2 separate regions of the Homo sapiens genome follow, and region 2 is linked to region 1. The links are contacts of gene promoters, found by promoter capture Hi-C in blood cells and fetal thymus (Javierre and others, 2016). All regions are on one chromosome and are shown on one strand. The core of a region is centred on a gene start or on the middle of the fragment in contact, and the rest is flanking DNA. Distances in the headings are between cores, read along the strand shown.

Region 1 (7,561 bases), core at 2,608-5,107:
GTGTGGTTAATAGTTACTCTGTTAACTGCCGTTGATTTTGTTTAGTCCTTCTATAATGTCCAGTATCAAAAGAGCAAAGCAATGTCAAAATTCTACAAATCAAAGAAGGGAAAATTAAAGGCATGTTAATATTTCAGAGGTAAGGAAAACTCATGTAGGTTTTTATTGTGTGCTAACAAAATTAGGCCTAAAGAATAAAGGGAGGAAAAATCAGCTGAACCAGATTTGATCCAGGTTCTGTTTTCCACCTCCTGCCCCCATTAAATGCAAAGCCCAGTTCCAGTTCAAGCTGCCTACAACACTTCTCCCTTTGTTCTGTTTATTCTTTCCACGGGCCTTAAAATTAAGTTGTTCCTTTTTGTCCCAGTTCTTAGAGTTCTTTGATGTAGCAACCCACTGCATTCCTAAACATTCCAAAACTCTTGAACCATTTCCAGCCTGTGGATTTTAGCTTAAGTATCATAATGTTTCTAATGTTCAGAGCCTCTGCCTTTTGGTTCATTTTGTATCTTCTAACCCTTAAAACATTTTAACTCCATTTGTTCTACTTCCTCCCAGTTCTACTGAACCATGAATTTAAATTTGCAAAGCAATTAATAGCAGTGAAACATGGAGATGCTTAAAATTCACATACACAGGCAATAAAGAATACTAATACAGAGCCTTATAATTATCAAGTGCTGATAACACTCAAGCATCCCTGAAGGAAAAAAAAAAAAACCCAACCTTGAGATAATTACCTTGCACAGTCTCTCAGGCATCAAGTAGGTGATAAGTGAACATTGAAGGGTTTTCATCTATTGCTCAGTTTTCTTCATAGAATGAAACTGCCAACTCTTAGTACTTACCTCACCTTTTTTTCAGGAGTCTACTCACCCATGTAGGCAAGCTCTCTGAGCCCCCCATTGCAAAGAAGAGCAAGTTGATGTTCAGCGAATTGCCCAAGAACATATAGGAGTTGAGAGTTCCCTTGGATTAGAATCCTGATTTCCTGAAAACCAGTCCTGGTGGTTCTGTATGAAAGTCACATTGCTTCACACAGTTCCTTCAATTTAGAGCTCCTCCCTCCACCCTGTTCTCAAGAAACTTATGAAACTAGCAATATCTGGCTGCCAATTATCTGATAACTTCCTAAGCATGAGCATATTTAAAAAGTTAAGTAAAATGTGAGTGCTACTCCCTGAAAGCCATCACTTTTGACTTTTTTAGGTGTTTCATGAGGTACTTGCCTCCGTATTTCAAAATAGTAGGATTATATGCCTTTTTCTTGGATTCCCGGAGTTGAGCTGCCAGACTTCCCATTGTGCAAGATGAGAATTTAGAATCCTCATATCACACTGACTTCCTTCTCCCTACCTCAATTAAATCATGTTGAAGATTTTTCTTATGACTAAGTGTACTACAATTTACATTTCCGGAACAACTTTCCTGGCAGTGATAACCGCTTTTTTTTCTTTTTTTTTTTTTTTTGAGACAGTCTCACTCTGTCACCCAGGCTGGAGTGAGGTGGCACAAATCAGTTCACTGTAGCCTTGACGTGGGGTCAAACGATCCTCCCACCCCAGCCATTGCAGTAGGTGTGAATACAGATGTCAGCCACCATGGCCAGCTAGTTTTTTTACTTTTTGTGGAGACAGGGATCTCACTACATTGTCCAGGCTGGATTTGAACTCCTGTGCTCAAGTGATTCTCCCGCCCTGGACTCACAAAGTGTTGGGATTACAAATAAGCCATGGCGGCGCCCAGCCCACTTGGTTACTTTGTTTTCTGCGTAGCTGTCACCAATCCTTGCCAGATTCCCCCAACAGAAATTTAACACCCTCTGCTTAATATTTTCCTCATCAGTCAGATATCAGGCACTCTGTATCAGTTCTCTTCCCCACACCTCAGAGAAGTTTCTCTTAGAACCCTCTGTCTTCCTGTTCCAATCCAGGCTAGGTGCTTGTTTGAAACTATCTTTATTCTCCTTGCTTTCTCTCTGAATTGGCTGGGTTTAAAAACTCTAAGAAATAAATTATCTCCACATTTTGAAAGCATTACTCCCTTCTAAATTCCAGTGTTGCTGATAGGAAGCCTAATACTATTGCGTATGTGATGCCAAGTCCTTTGTAAGTTTTCCCCTCTGCAGCTCTTGGTTTTTCTCTTATCTGCTGTGTTCTGAAACTTCACAACCATGTTCCTTTGTGTGGGTTTCTTAATAGTCATTGTGGTGAGCACTCAGTGGGCCCTTGCACTGTGAAAAACGTTTCTGTTTGCTAAATTTTCTATTAAGTTTTTGAAAAATTTTCTCTTCATTTTGTTTTTGTTTCTAAACTCCTGTTAATTGGATACTGGATCCTTTTGTTTTTGCTCCATTTTTCATCTATTTCTACTTTCTAAATTTTTCCAACTCATTGATGTTTTGAAATTTGGGATATGATTTTTACTACAGAAGAACCATTTCCTGTGCTCTGCTGTCTCCTTAAAAAAAGAAATCCTCTTGTTTCATAGCTGAAATATCTTTTATTTGAAGATGCTAGTTATAGAATACTTTTTGAGACCATTTTGTTCTGTTTTCCATTTCCTTCAAATAACAAAAACGTTGGGAAATGCTGTGTTCGTGAGGCTCACACTAGGGGATGCTGAATGTTGGTATTGCCGAGCCATTTCTCTAGGGTCTTTTGTCTACTCATTTCTTCAGAGAAAAATAGGGTTATGGGGAGATAGTGGTAGGGAGCGGTAGAGGGGTGCCTGCATTATGGGAGGGGCAGAGAAGGGGGCTGCTAGCATTGCACTATTCAGTAGGAAAACATCATGGCACCTCTCATCCTTTGTTAGGCTTTGTGTCTGGAATCCCTCTGATGCCCTGTCTTTAGCATCTTAAACTAGTCTTCTGCCTGAACAATTTACTGCCCTCCCTTCTACCTTCAAGGCACCTGAAGCTTTCTGGGGTTCTGCTTTGTGAATCAGTGGCTAAATATCCCCTTCTACAAGCAGTTTGCTCAGTTCTCCTGACACCATCTGCAAAGAGGGTGCTTGGGTTCAGGTAACCTCCCTATGGCTCACTTATCTGTAAAGCATACTTAATATCTCTACCTTTTAGGTTGTTTAAAGGAGTGAACAATGTGTAAAACACTTAGAACAATGTCTGTCACGCTGTAAGGACTGAATAAGTTATTGCTCTTGTCCTCCAAAAATGTGTTGGTATAACCGGTCTGCAGTCATCTCTTCTCTTGTTCTTTTTGCCTTTGTTTGTTCCCTTTGTCATTGCTTTACTGTTATTTGGAGAAGGAGCATTGCTTTACTGTTAAGTTTGGAGAAGGAGCAGGATACACAGGATTAATTATAACTGGAAGTCCTCTTTAATATTTTAAATTAGCTTTACTTTCTTACAGCCCTAATCTTTCTGGGTGACTCTGGACACTCTACTACAGTAATATGAATATGGCAGCCCCTCGGAAGCCATGCAATCATTTCTTCTCTTCAGAAGGACAGCACACTTTCTTTGGAGGGCCCAGGACAATGCAGTGGAAAGTGCTTTGGCTTGGAGGCAGAAGTCCCAGAGGCAGTACTTCTCAGCTGTCACCTCTGACAAGCTTCTCCAGCGTTTCTTCTGTTAAAATGAGCCCCCAAAATGCCTACGACCCGGTTGCGATCGAGTGGCCGACGCCCCCAGTGGGAGTGAGGCCCAGCACGCGAGCTCGGTCCCTCTTCCTGGAGCCAGGTGGGTGCGCGCCTTCAGGCTCACCCGGCGGCGCAAGCGGGAGAAGCCAGGTGCCCTCAATAAACATGGCCGCCACGCCAGCGTCAACCCGGCTCGGGAGGCCGCGCTGCCGCTTGGGAATCGCAGGTTTGGCGTCACCCGGCCCGGAACCACGTGATGCAGGAGGTGCCCGAGGCGGCGGGGCTCGCGCGGGTGGAGCCGCCTCGGCGTTCGAGCGGGGTGGGGGCTGCCCGGTTGAGATTTCCCGGCGGGTCCCGGCCTCTGCGTGCACGCGCCTGCGTGCTCGCGCTCGCGGTTCTGGCGCTGCCGGTGAGGAGCCGGGGAGCGAGGCGGGGAGGCTGGGAGCGGGGCGCCTCTTCTGAGGCCAGAGGGGGCTGGGCAGGGCCGGCCCGGCGGGAAGGGGGTCGGCCGCGCGCTATCAGCGCCTGGTCCCTGAGCCGCGGCGCTGGCGGTGGGGGCTTTTCGGCCCCGGCCCCTCCTGGCAGGGCCCGGCTGTGCAGGTGGCCGGGCAGGGCCGAGGGCCCCGCAGCCCACCGAGAAGGCCCCGCCGGCCTCTGGCCCGCCCACCCGGCGACCTGCGCTGGGGCCGCTTGCACGGCCGCCGCGGGTTGCAGCCTTGGAGTTTAGTTTCATCTTCGGATTTTCCTTCAGAGTCGGAGTGGGAGTGGGACGCAAGTTGGTGGTCTTCTTCGGTCTTTTAAAATAGTCTGGGTTGACGTCAAATGCAGAAATGAGGCAGTGTTGATTTTTTTTGGCGTAAGTACCCCAAGCCTCGGGGGAAATCATGAGGCAGCCGGTTGAAGGAGACCAACTCGGGAAGGAGGAAAAGGTTAGGGAGGCTGAAGTGCTCAGTTTAGGACAGACACTTGCTTTGGACAGTTTGCTAACTAGCCAGTCTGTGTGTATTTTTGTTTTCGGCATTTTTGTCGCCTTTATTAAAATTTCTCAGCAGTTAAACAGGCCGCTGATAGACATAAGGGAATTATTTATATAGCAGATTGCCCAACTCTTGCATTGTATCCTAACCTAGGACCATGCTGTGTCCCCATGGCTTTCAAGCTGAAGAAATGAAGGTCTAAAGTGTGTCAGACGTACCTAAAGAAGAGTTCAAAAGTGTAGCTGCCATCCTTTCCTTAGCTATCAGAGGAAGCAGTCACTCCAGAATGAGACATACACAAGCCCGGGTTCATAGACTCACCCTCCATAAGCTGTGTTGCTAGATTGAAGTTTTTAATCACCAGTGAAGAATTGATTGTCATAATTTTAGGAGACTACTGAAGTTTGCCTTGTTTCTTTCCCTAGGAAAGGAATAATGCTGACAGCATGTCTGCACATTCCATGCTCTGTGAACGAATCGCCATAGCCAAGGAACTGATCAAGAGAGCAGAATCACTTTCTAGATCAAGAAAAGGTGGCATAGAAGGTGGTGCAAAGCTGTGCAGCAAATTGAAGGCAGAATTAAAATTCTTGCAGAAAGTAGAAGCTGGGAAAGTAGCTATTAAAGAGTCTCATTTACAGAGCACTAACCTAACACACCTGAGAGCCATTGTGGAATCAGCAGAAAACCTGGAAGAAGTTGTTAGTGTTCTTCATGTCTTTGGTTATACAGATACCTTAGGAGAAAAGCAAACCCTTGTGGTAGATGTAGTTGCAAATGGTGGTCATACTTGGGTGAAAGCCATTGGCCGGAAGGCTGAAGCTCTTCATAACATCTGGCTGGGCAGGGGCCAATATGGTGACAAAAGCATCATTGAGCAGGCTGAAGACTTCCTCCAGGCCAGTCACCAGCAGCCAGTGCAGTATAGCAACCCTCACATCATCTTTGCATTTTACAACAGTGTCTCCAGCCCCATGGCAGAGAAGCTGAAAGAAATGGGCATATCTGTGAGAGGAGACATAGTAGCAGTCAACGCTCTGTTAGATCACCCTGAAGAGCTTCAACCAAGTGAGAGTGAATCAGATGATGAGGGCCCTGAACTTTTGCAGGTGACCAGAGTTGACCGAGAAAATATACTAGCAAGTGTTGCGTTTCCAACAGAAATTAAGGTCGATGTGTGCAAAAGAGTAAATCTGGACATTACTACTTTAATCACATATGTATCTGCCCTCAGCTATGGAGGCTGCCACTTTATTTTCAAAGAGAAAGTGCTCACAGAACAAGCAGAGCAAGAGAGGAAAGAGCAGGTTCTACCTCAGCTGGAGGCCTTTATGAAGGACAAGGAGTTGTTTGCTTGTGAATCTGCTGTCAAGGACTTTCAGTCTATTTTAGATACCTTAGGAGGACCTGGGGAGAGAGAGAGGGCCACTGTGTTAATTAAGCGAATTAATGTGGTACCAGACCAGCCTTCTGAGCGTGCCTTGAGACTAGTGGCCAGTTCAAAAATTAATAGCCGCTCATTAACAATTTTTGGGACGGGAGACACCCTAAAAGCCATCACAATGACTGCTAATAGTGGTTTTGTCAGAGCTGCAAACAACCAGGGTGTTAAATTTAGTGTGTTTATCCATCAGCCCAGAGCACTTACTGAGAGTAAAGAGGCTCTAGCCACCCCCTTACCAAAAGACTACACAACTGACAGTGAACACTAAAGATACCCTTTAAATATTTTTGTGGAAGTAAGTTATTTATACCAAAGGCTGGGTCTTCCCATCTAAACTGGTGGGAAAAAAGGTCTATAGTAAAAGTAAAACTGAGAACTCTTAAACCAGTAGAGTTTCTTTGTCTCTCATCTAAAGTATATAACCTCCCAAAGTAGAAAAAGCACAAGAGAGAAGCTTATCTATCAAACTGTCTGCATTAGTGCAATTAAGAACCGAAATACGTCTATATAAAGCTTTCAGCTGTATTGTAATACTTTGATTCGATAGGGCTACAACTCCCCTACTGCTAACCACATTTCATGGAATATGGCTACATTGCATCTTGCATTAAATATCTGGAGAAAATTCAAGCCTGTTTTTCATTGTATTGCTTTATATGGTTTAGGCTGGGAGGTAGTCGTTGGTAATCAATTTTAGATTCTAAGGTTAACCATTAATGAAAAACTTATTTGCTGTATGTCAGGTGCAGTCTGATAGGTGTTTTTACAAAAAGTACATAATACAGAAGAAATGAGAAAGTGAATTATGGTTATTTGAGTGCCATGAACCCATTGGTAGACCTTTGTGAAAAGAAAGCCAACAATCTTACTACTATAAGATAAAACCAGGACACTTAAGGTAAAATACTAATTTGAATGAATTGAAAAAGGATTATGTAAAAGATTTTAAAAATTCAATACAGAAAGCCCCCATATTATAAGTATTTGAACAATAAATACTATTTTCATGTTTCATTTGCAAGTGGCAAGTGACAACTGCATTACCTTACTTTCATGAGATGGTGACAGAATATTCCATGCCAATTCCATGACACAAGTTGTAGTTAAAAATACACTTCTATGGCTACATTGCGCTAGATACTTTATCAGTTTTCAATAAAGCAAAACTAGCAAAGTCGGTATGTATTCACCACATTTAAAAATTTGGAATTTGAGTCCTGGAGCTTAAATATTAACTCATGCTAAGTGTAGGAGCTGGTATTAAAACTTGATGTTTCTAGCCACAGTCTGATCTCTTTCTACCATGCCAAATGTCGTATTTGTTGAGAAGAGAATCTCAATTTACAGCCACAGTGTTTGTTGGGGTGGAATTTGGTTATTGGCATTCATGAACACCCTGAAATGAATGCAAAATTAAGTGTATGGGGGTGGTTCTCTGGGGAGAGATTGCTTTACTAAGTCAGAATACATTTTCTAGTAGAAAGGCTGTGATTTGCTTCCAGTTTAGTGTAGAGTGGTATATGTCTAGTGTTAGAAA
Region 2 (7,561 bases), core at 3,005-5,504, 5.2 Mb before region 1:
GGCCCCCAACTCCCTGGAAAGCCTTGCAGAGTGGGCAGGATTCATGCTGAGAGGAAGAGAGTGAAGCACTGGGTCTACAGGATGATCCAAGGCTCATAAAGACATCAGTAGGAGTCTGTGAAGTGAAGCTGCTTTCCTGAGGTCAAGCCAGTTGTTTCCACCACACGGTTCTCACCTTCGTAACTCAGCAGTCTCTTGTCACCAAGCTAAAACCCAAAAGGTCCCTTTTTGGAGAATGGGATTTATTATTACCATAATATAGTGATCATTTCCAGCAAATTTTGAATGCCAGGGAAAACTACAGTTGTTAGGTGTGGAGAAAAATGTTCCCTCCAATTGCTGCCTTAAATCTCTCCACCAGGCTTTCATTCTCCCTTAGCATTTACACAACACTTCTTTGGAAATCCCAGCCTACTGCAGTCCAGCTAAGGAGAGCTAAGAAGGGGAATAAGGTGTGGTGTTGTTGATTTTTTTTTTAATTCAACACTTTATTCTTCATTTTTTTAGAAACAGGGGGCCATGCACAGTGGCCCACGCCCCTAATCTCAGCACTTTGGGAGGCCGAGGAGGCCAGATCACTTGAGGTCAGGAGTTCAAGACCAGCCTGGCCAACATGGTGAAACTCCATCTCTACTAAAAATGCAAAAAAGTAGCTGGGTGTGGTGGCGCATGCCTGGAATCCCAGCTACTCGGGAGGCTGAGGCAGGAGAATCGCTGGAACCCAGGAGATGAAGGTTGTAGTGAGTCGAGATCATGCCACTGCACTCCAGCCTGGGTGAAAGAGCAAGACTCTGTCTCAAAAAAAAAAAAAAAAGAAACAAACAGGGTCTCACTCTGTTACCCAGGCTGGAGTGGAGTGGTGCAATCACAGCTCACTGCCGCCTCAAATTACTGGGCTCACGTGATCCTCCCACCTCAGCCTCCAAGTAGCTGGAATTACAGGCATGAGTCACAACACCAGTGTGAAGGGAATGAGTTTTAAAAGAGGTATCACACCTTGGCCCCCGGTTCACCAGGGGCCAAATGAAGGACAGTGTAGGGATGAAGCTTCATGAATAGGCAGAGCTACCTCTCCCTACACATGTGGAAGGAGGAGAGAGAAGCCAGGGCAGTGCTTCTTATCAAAAGGCACTACAGGAGGATCCCGGGGCGTAGGGGTCTGGTCATGATTTCAGGCCTTCTTCAGGATCCATTAAGCAGACCTACCGACTGAGGGAAGAAGTAGGGTTTAGGGTCAGGCAGAGTCCTGATCCCCAGGGCCAGTTTCTGTGGGGCAGGAACATTCCCCCGTAAGAGTGGCTCCTCTGAAGAATGTGCCCTCTTACAACCTCCCCTAAAACTCTGCCCCCTCCAGGCTGCTATTTTTGTCTTTAGGGGTAGGGAGCTAATGGGAGGGAGCAGCCCCCCAGTGAACCAGGCAGGGGAAGAGCTAAGAGGTGAGCTCCCTTGGGCCAGCAGCTGAGAACATCCCACTGAATCAGAGACTGCTGAGTGGCCCCCGGAAAGCTCTCCAGAGAGAATCCAACCCCGTTTGTAGAAAAGGAAACCAAGCCAAAGACAGAACTTCCCGTCTGGCCTTGTAGAGTAAGGATGTTTCTCTCTAGGTTTGGTTGCTTTTCTTTACTCTGAACCAGAGAAACCAAGGCCACATCAGCAGAGAAATCAGTTCCCTTGTCCAGTCACTGCTTTCCGCTGGCTCCTTCCTAGTGGGCTCCAGGACCAGCCTCACTCTCTCTTTCCCTTTGCAATCTTAGTACCTGCAGGATCCCCCCTCCTGGGTGTGAGTGTCCCAAGAACTAACTTCTCTCCACTTTTCAGCCCTGCACTCAGGGAGGGTCTATTTAACCACACCCACGTAGGCAGAGAAAGTTGCAGATGTCTGCAGTGCTCCAGTGGAAAAGACCCTGGTGTTGAAGATGTCAGACTGCACTGATTTTAGAAAACCTTTCTCCTAACATTGTACCACAATGTTCTCCAACTTCCGTAAGGAAATGAAATTCAGTTTCTCAACAAGTCTTCTCTCACCTCTCTAGAAAGCCATGCTCTTCGCTCCCCTCCCCACATAACAGGAGAGTTTTGCTGGTTTTACCTGGGCTGCAAATTCTACCTCCCAGGGAAATCCTAAACCTGGCTTAGGATTTGGCTCCCCAAGGAAGAGTCTTTTCGGTGATCACCTGGGGCTCTCTACCTATTACCAGCCAGATCCATCTTACTTAAAAAAAAAAAAAAACTGAAGATGTTTTTGATTTTTTTTTTTAGTTTTAACCCGTTAAACTCAAATCAGATTGGTAAGTTACTTGCATAAATAACTTAGCTTGTAAACATTTAAAATACTTTTTTGAATGAACATATTTCAAAAGCAAATGTGTGTGAGAGAGAGAGGAGAAGGAAGAAGAATGTTTGTTGTTTATCTTTAGGGAAGAGGAAAACCTAGAAGTTTCATTTTCTGTTATATATTTGATTTTTGGTTTTTGGGTTTTTTTGTTTGTTTGTTTTTACAATAAGTTTGCGTTAATTTTAAGATCAGTAAAGTCAACAAAATTCCACTTTGACAAAAAGCCCATGTAAAGAAACACTAATTTATCCTTCTTAAATGAAACATGAATGCCCACCAGTGCTGAAAGTATTGGAACCAAGAATATAATTTGTGCTCGATACACCTGTGCTGAATTAAAACGGTCTGCGGTGATGAGGTTTAATGCAGAGGACTAGAAGGTCAGGGTAGCCTCTGAAAAAAGAAATAATGTAAGAGCAGCTGAGAAATGGGGAAAGCTTGGGCCAAAATGCAGATGGGCAAACAAACTGAAAGGCGGGAGAGACAAAGGCCTGCCCTGGGAATGGCTCAGCAGCGCTTGTAGAAATCCAGAGTAAGACATTCTTTCTATTCAAGGAAGTCACAAAGTTTTTTAAAGACCCGCGGTTACAGCCAATGAATGGAACCAATGGTCTTTTTAACCAGAAGACCCCAGGAAGGCAGAAAATGAGCCAAAGAAAGGCCAGGCAGGGGACAGTGGGGAAAGGAAACAGGGATGGAGAAGCAGAGAGGGAAGTGCAGAGACAGGTCACCCAGGCGCCTGGAAACTGCCTCTATGGCCTTCACGGGAAACGGCCTCTTTCTACTCCGGATCCCAGACTGTGTTTCTTTGAAACTGACCGTCAGAGGAGAGCGGCTGGAGGCGGACAGACGTCTGCAGTGGGAGGCGCTCCAGGCGTTCCAGGCAGTGTCCTGCCGGCGAGTCACCCGCGACCGCGAGTCACCTCACCAAGCCCTGAATTGGGACAGGAGACGAGACGTGTCGACGAGCTGCGGAGTTCCTCGCTTCTCTGGGCCCTGCCAGGTCCAAGAACAGGTTGCCATATAAAAGAATCGTGAAGGGACCCCCTTCCCCATGCAAATTATGTCATATAACGCATATGCCTGTGAAGTTTCTCTGCGGAGCTGCCAGATAACTCGATGACAATATTTTATGCGGTAACATTTTGTTAAATGTTGACTCGATGGCCACTTGACGCCATCTGAACTCTGAAAGCTCGCGTAACAATCATCCTCCAAATGAAATTTTACCCCCTTCTCCCTTTAAAAGGCGGTGGGGACAAAACATCACTTCGTCACTTAAGTCACCATCTCCTTCCTCTTATCTGGGGCTCCCAGCATAGTTCTAGGGGTTCCCGCACTCCCCGCCCGGGTTTGGGCTGCGAGAAGCGCCCGCCTGCGCCCTGCGGGACCTGACCCTGCCGGCTCTGGCTTCACCCTCGCTGCGCCTCGGCCCGGTGGGCTCCCCGCCCAGAGCCCCGCGCGCTCCGTCGCCGGGACGTGGGAGAGGTAGGCACGGGGTGGACCCGAGGAAGCACATCCCGCCCGCGCGCTTCCCCCACGCCCACCTCGCTCCGCACACACCAGCCCCAGAACCTCCCGGCCGCGCGCCCGCCTCCCCGCGCAGCCGCGCCGGGCCGCTCTCTGCTCCTCTGCAGCTCACAGCCAAGGTGCACCAGAGCCTCCGTCACCGCCCCTACAGGTAAATGGGCACGTGGCCAAGGCAGGGGACGGGCTAGACCCCTGGGAAGAGAGAACGGCGGGAGCCGGGCCGCGGGCGACTCACCACTCGGCCTGCGCAGAGAGCCGCTACACCCGCGGCGCCATCCTCGCACTGCGACACCGGCGACAAACGCAATGCTCCAGGGCCGGACGAAGGGACGGCTCTCGGGAGGCTCGCAGACGGCGGGGCGCGGGTCTGTGCGCCGGAGCACTCGAATGAGGGAACCACCTGCGAGGTGAATCTCATATGGAGTCTGCGAGCGGCCCCGCCCTGCCCGGGGGTTACCGCTAGGCTCGGGCCCCGCCTGCCCTGGGCCGGCGAACTCAGCTGACCGCATCCTGGGCCATCCCGCAGACAAGCCCCGCCCGCCCCCACCTTCCTCTGCCCCTCTGGCCCCGCCTCCCCCGCCTTCCTCCTCTCCACCCTCCCGCGAAGGTCCCGGGAGGCTCAGCCCGCAATTGCTTCTCGCCTCTGCAGAGCAGCTGGGCAATTGTAAAGAACCAGCAGCCAGTTCTGTTACTCATTAAACAGCCCCTACTACAGAGGAAATCTTCTTACCCACGTGGTCCTAACCTGGGGCGGAGGAAACCGGGCTAGAAGCGGCTCTAGGACTAACCCAAGGTCACGCCGCCAGGCAGGATCCCCGGTCTGTCTGTCTGGCGGTGGCCCCGCGGCTGGGGCCAGCGGAGAGAAATGACAGCGTGGAACCAGCCCTGGCCCGGTGGTCGGGAATGTGGAGCTGGCACTGTCACTGTGTGTACCCTGGATCTCTCTGGACGGCCTCGGCTTCCCCCCTGGGGAGTTTCTCTGGGACCTTCCTGATCCTGGGAGTTCCCGCTTGCTGGGGCAAAGCCAGGAGCTCGCCCGAGGAGGGGAAGTGACTCATTCACTTCGAGTCGCAGCTAAGTGGCCGAACTGCCTCAAACCGGCGCTGCACTCTGACCCCCAGGGGCCGGACCTGCCTGCCCCCGGCCGGTGCCCACTCTCCGTCTCAGGCGTCTTTCCTGGTCCTCTCCCTGCTTCCCGAACGCGCACTCTGGTGAGAGCACAGAGCCTGGGAAAGAAGACGACCTAGAGGCCCGGGCAGCCCAGCACCTCTGTTACTTGCTTCCTAAAGGGAACTCCAGTTCCTGAGAAAACATGGGGTTGGGCCGGGAGTGGTGGCTCACGCCTGTAATCCCAGCACTTTGGAAGGCCGAGGCGGATGGATCACCTGAGGTCAGGAGTTCGAGACCAGCCTGCCCAACATGGTGAAACCCCGTCACTACTAAAAATACAAAAAATTAGCTGGACGTGGTGTCGCGTGCCTGTAATCCCAGGTACTAGGCAGGCCGAGGCAGGAGAATTGCTTGAACCCAGCGAAGGATGCAGTGAGCCGAGATCGCGCCATTGCACTCCATACTGGGTGACAAGAGTGAAACACACAAACAAATCAAGGAAGGAATTAAGGGTTTTATTGAAAATGAAAGTACGGCCAGGCGCAGTGGCTCACACCTGTAATCCCAGCACTTTGGGAGGCCGAGGCGGGTGGATTACAAAGTCAGGAGTTCAAGACCAGCCTAACCAAGATGGTGAAACCCCGTCTCTACTAAAAGTAAAAAAAAAAAAAAAACAAAAAAAAAAACCTAGCCGGTCACAGTGGCAGGTGCCTGTAATTCCAGCTACTTGGGAGGCTGAGGCAGGAGAACCACTTGAACCTGGGTGGCAGAGGTTGCAGTGAGCTGAGATCATGCCACTGCATTCCAGCCTTGGTGACACAGTGAGACGCCATCTCAAAAAAAAAAGGTAAATGAAAGTACACTCCACAGTGTGGGAGCGGGCCTGAGCGTAGGGGCTCAAAGGCCCCATTCCAGAATTTTGGGGAGTTTCAATGTCCTCCGCTTGGGGCACACACTATGTAAATGAAAGGGATGATGCAAAGTTACAAAGTCATTTACTTGGCCTACGCAGAGGCTATTTCCTGTCATAGCTAAAGTGTGAATCGGCCTTATGTTCCCTGCCTCCAGACCCTATTTTGCTGCCTCAGACTGAAGACTGAAACTGGCCTGGTTAGGAAGTTGCTATTCTCTCTCTCTGAAGGTAGATTAACAACTTAGTTTTAGTTTTGTTACCGGAAAAGGGTCCCAATCCAGACCCCAAGAGAATGTTCTTGGATCTTGTGCAAGAAAGAATTCGGGGCCAGGGTGAGTCCACAGAGTAAAGTGAAAGAAGCAAGCTTATTGAGAAAGTAAAGGAATAAAAGAATGGCAATTCCATGGGCAGGGCAGCCTCTAGGGCTGCTGGTTGGCTATTTTTATGGTTATTTCTTGATCATATACTAAATAAGGGTGGATTATTCATGAGTTTTCTAGGAATTCTTCCTTTTAGAACATATAGGGTAACTTCTAAATGTTGCCATGGTATTTATAAACTGTCATGGTGCTGGTAGGAGTGTCGTTTAGCATGAGAATGCATTGTAATTAGCGAATAATGAGCAATGAGGAAGACCAGAGGTAGTTTTCCTCACCTTGCTGGTTTTTGGCAGGTTTTGGCCAGTTTTGGCTGGCTTCTTTACTGCATCCTGTTTCATCAGCAAGGTCTTTGTAACCTGTATCTTGTGATACCACCTGCCAACCTTCTATTTCATCCTGTGACTAAGGATGCCTAACCTCCTGGGAATGCACTCCAGCAGATCTCAGCCTCATTTTACCCAGCTCCTATTCAAGATGAAGAGTCTCTGAGTCGACTCCTGCTGACATATTTCCTGACTCTACAACCCTTAGGATTAAGGGTTCCCTTGTAAAAGGGAAGGGGGAATAACCAAATAACTCACCCCTTTCTTGGAAAACTCAGGAATAATCCACCCCTTGCTTAGCACATATTCAAGAGTAATCATAAAAAATACCCACCAGCAGCCCTTGGGGATGCTCTGCCTATGGAGTAGCCACTCTTTTATTCCCTTCCTTTCTTAATAAACTTCCTTTTACTGTTCTCTGTGGACTCACCCCAAATTCTTTCTTGTAGGAGATCCAAGAACTTTCTCTAGGGCTCAGGATCAGGACGCCTTTCCAGTAAGTTTGGTGACCTGAAACGTTAGCATGGGTGACTTTATTTTTATTTTTAGTCTTGTCTTTTGGGGCCTAGTGCAAGAGCTTAGTCTAAAACAATGGCCTCCTATAATTTGTGTTTAACATTTGTCAGGTTAAAACCTTGTCAGTGTGACAAACTGGAAACAAAATTGTGTCGGGCCACTACTAAACCACACCCAAAATACCTGTGTCATCAATGTTTGCAAGCAGAGAGCAAATGCAGCCCACCAATGGCCACCTAGAGCAGCAGCTGCTAGAGGCAGGAAAGTCTGGAAGAGACCCAGGGCTTGCAGGCTCAGCCAGGATCCCCCTGCTCCTCAACAAGGTCTTTGGGCTCTTTCAGAGATGCAGTTGGCCCTGAGCTCTGAGAGGTGGGGAGGGAAGGGGCTGAGAGGCTGAAGGCCAGGCCACACCAGATAGTGACACACCACTGCCCTTCAGGTTTCCCAAATCTAA

Evidence for each region. The method cuts DNA at HindIII sites, captures the fragments that hold promoters and counts their contacts. A CHiCAGO score of 5 or more calls a contact.
Region 2: a contact is called between the fragment with the promoter of UPP1 here and the fragment with the promoter of C7orf25 in region 1, in 2 of 17 cell types (non-activated CD4 T cells and activated CD4 T cells). The highest score is 10.5, in non-activated CD4 T cells.

Annotation. Positions count from the first base shown.
Region 1 is chr7:42,908,366-42,915,926 of GRCh38, reverse strand. It overlaps C7orf25 (chromosome 7 open reading frame 25), which reads left to right and starts at 3,857. Exons shown (of 2, transcript NM_001099858.2): 1 at 3,857-4,012; 2 at 5,006-6,654. The coding sequence starts at 5,027. The coding sequence ends at 6,292. RefSeq lists enhancers at 2,055-2,114, 3,634-4,330, 4,331-5,028 and a silencer at 4,026-4,285. The HindIII fragment of the contact is 2,903 bases long and covers 3,578-6,480 here.
Region 2 is chr7:48,085,958-48,093,518 of GRCh38, reverse strand. It overlaps UPP1 (uridine phosphorylase 1), which reads right to left and starts at 4,254. Exons shown (of 9, transcript NM_003364.4): 1 at 4,101-4,254; 2 at 3,155-3,331. RefSeq lists silencers at 3,690-3,879, 4,220-4,559 and enhancers at 3,660-4,189, 4,700-4,909, 4,722-5,251. The HindIII fragment of the contact is 3,480 bases long and covers 2,775-6,254 here.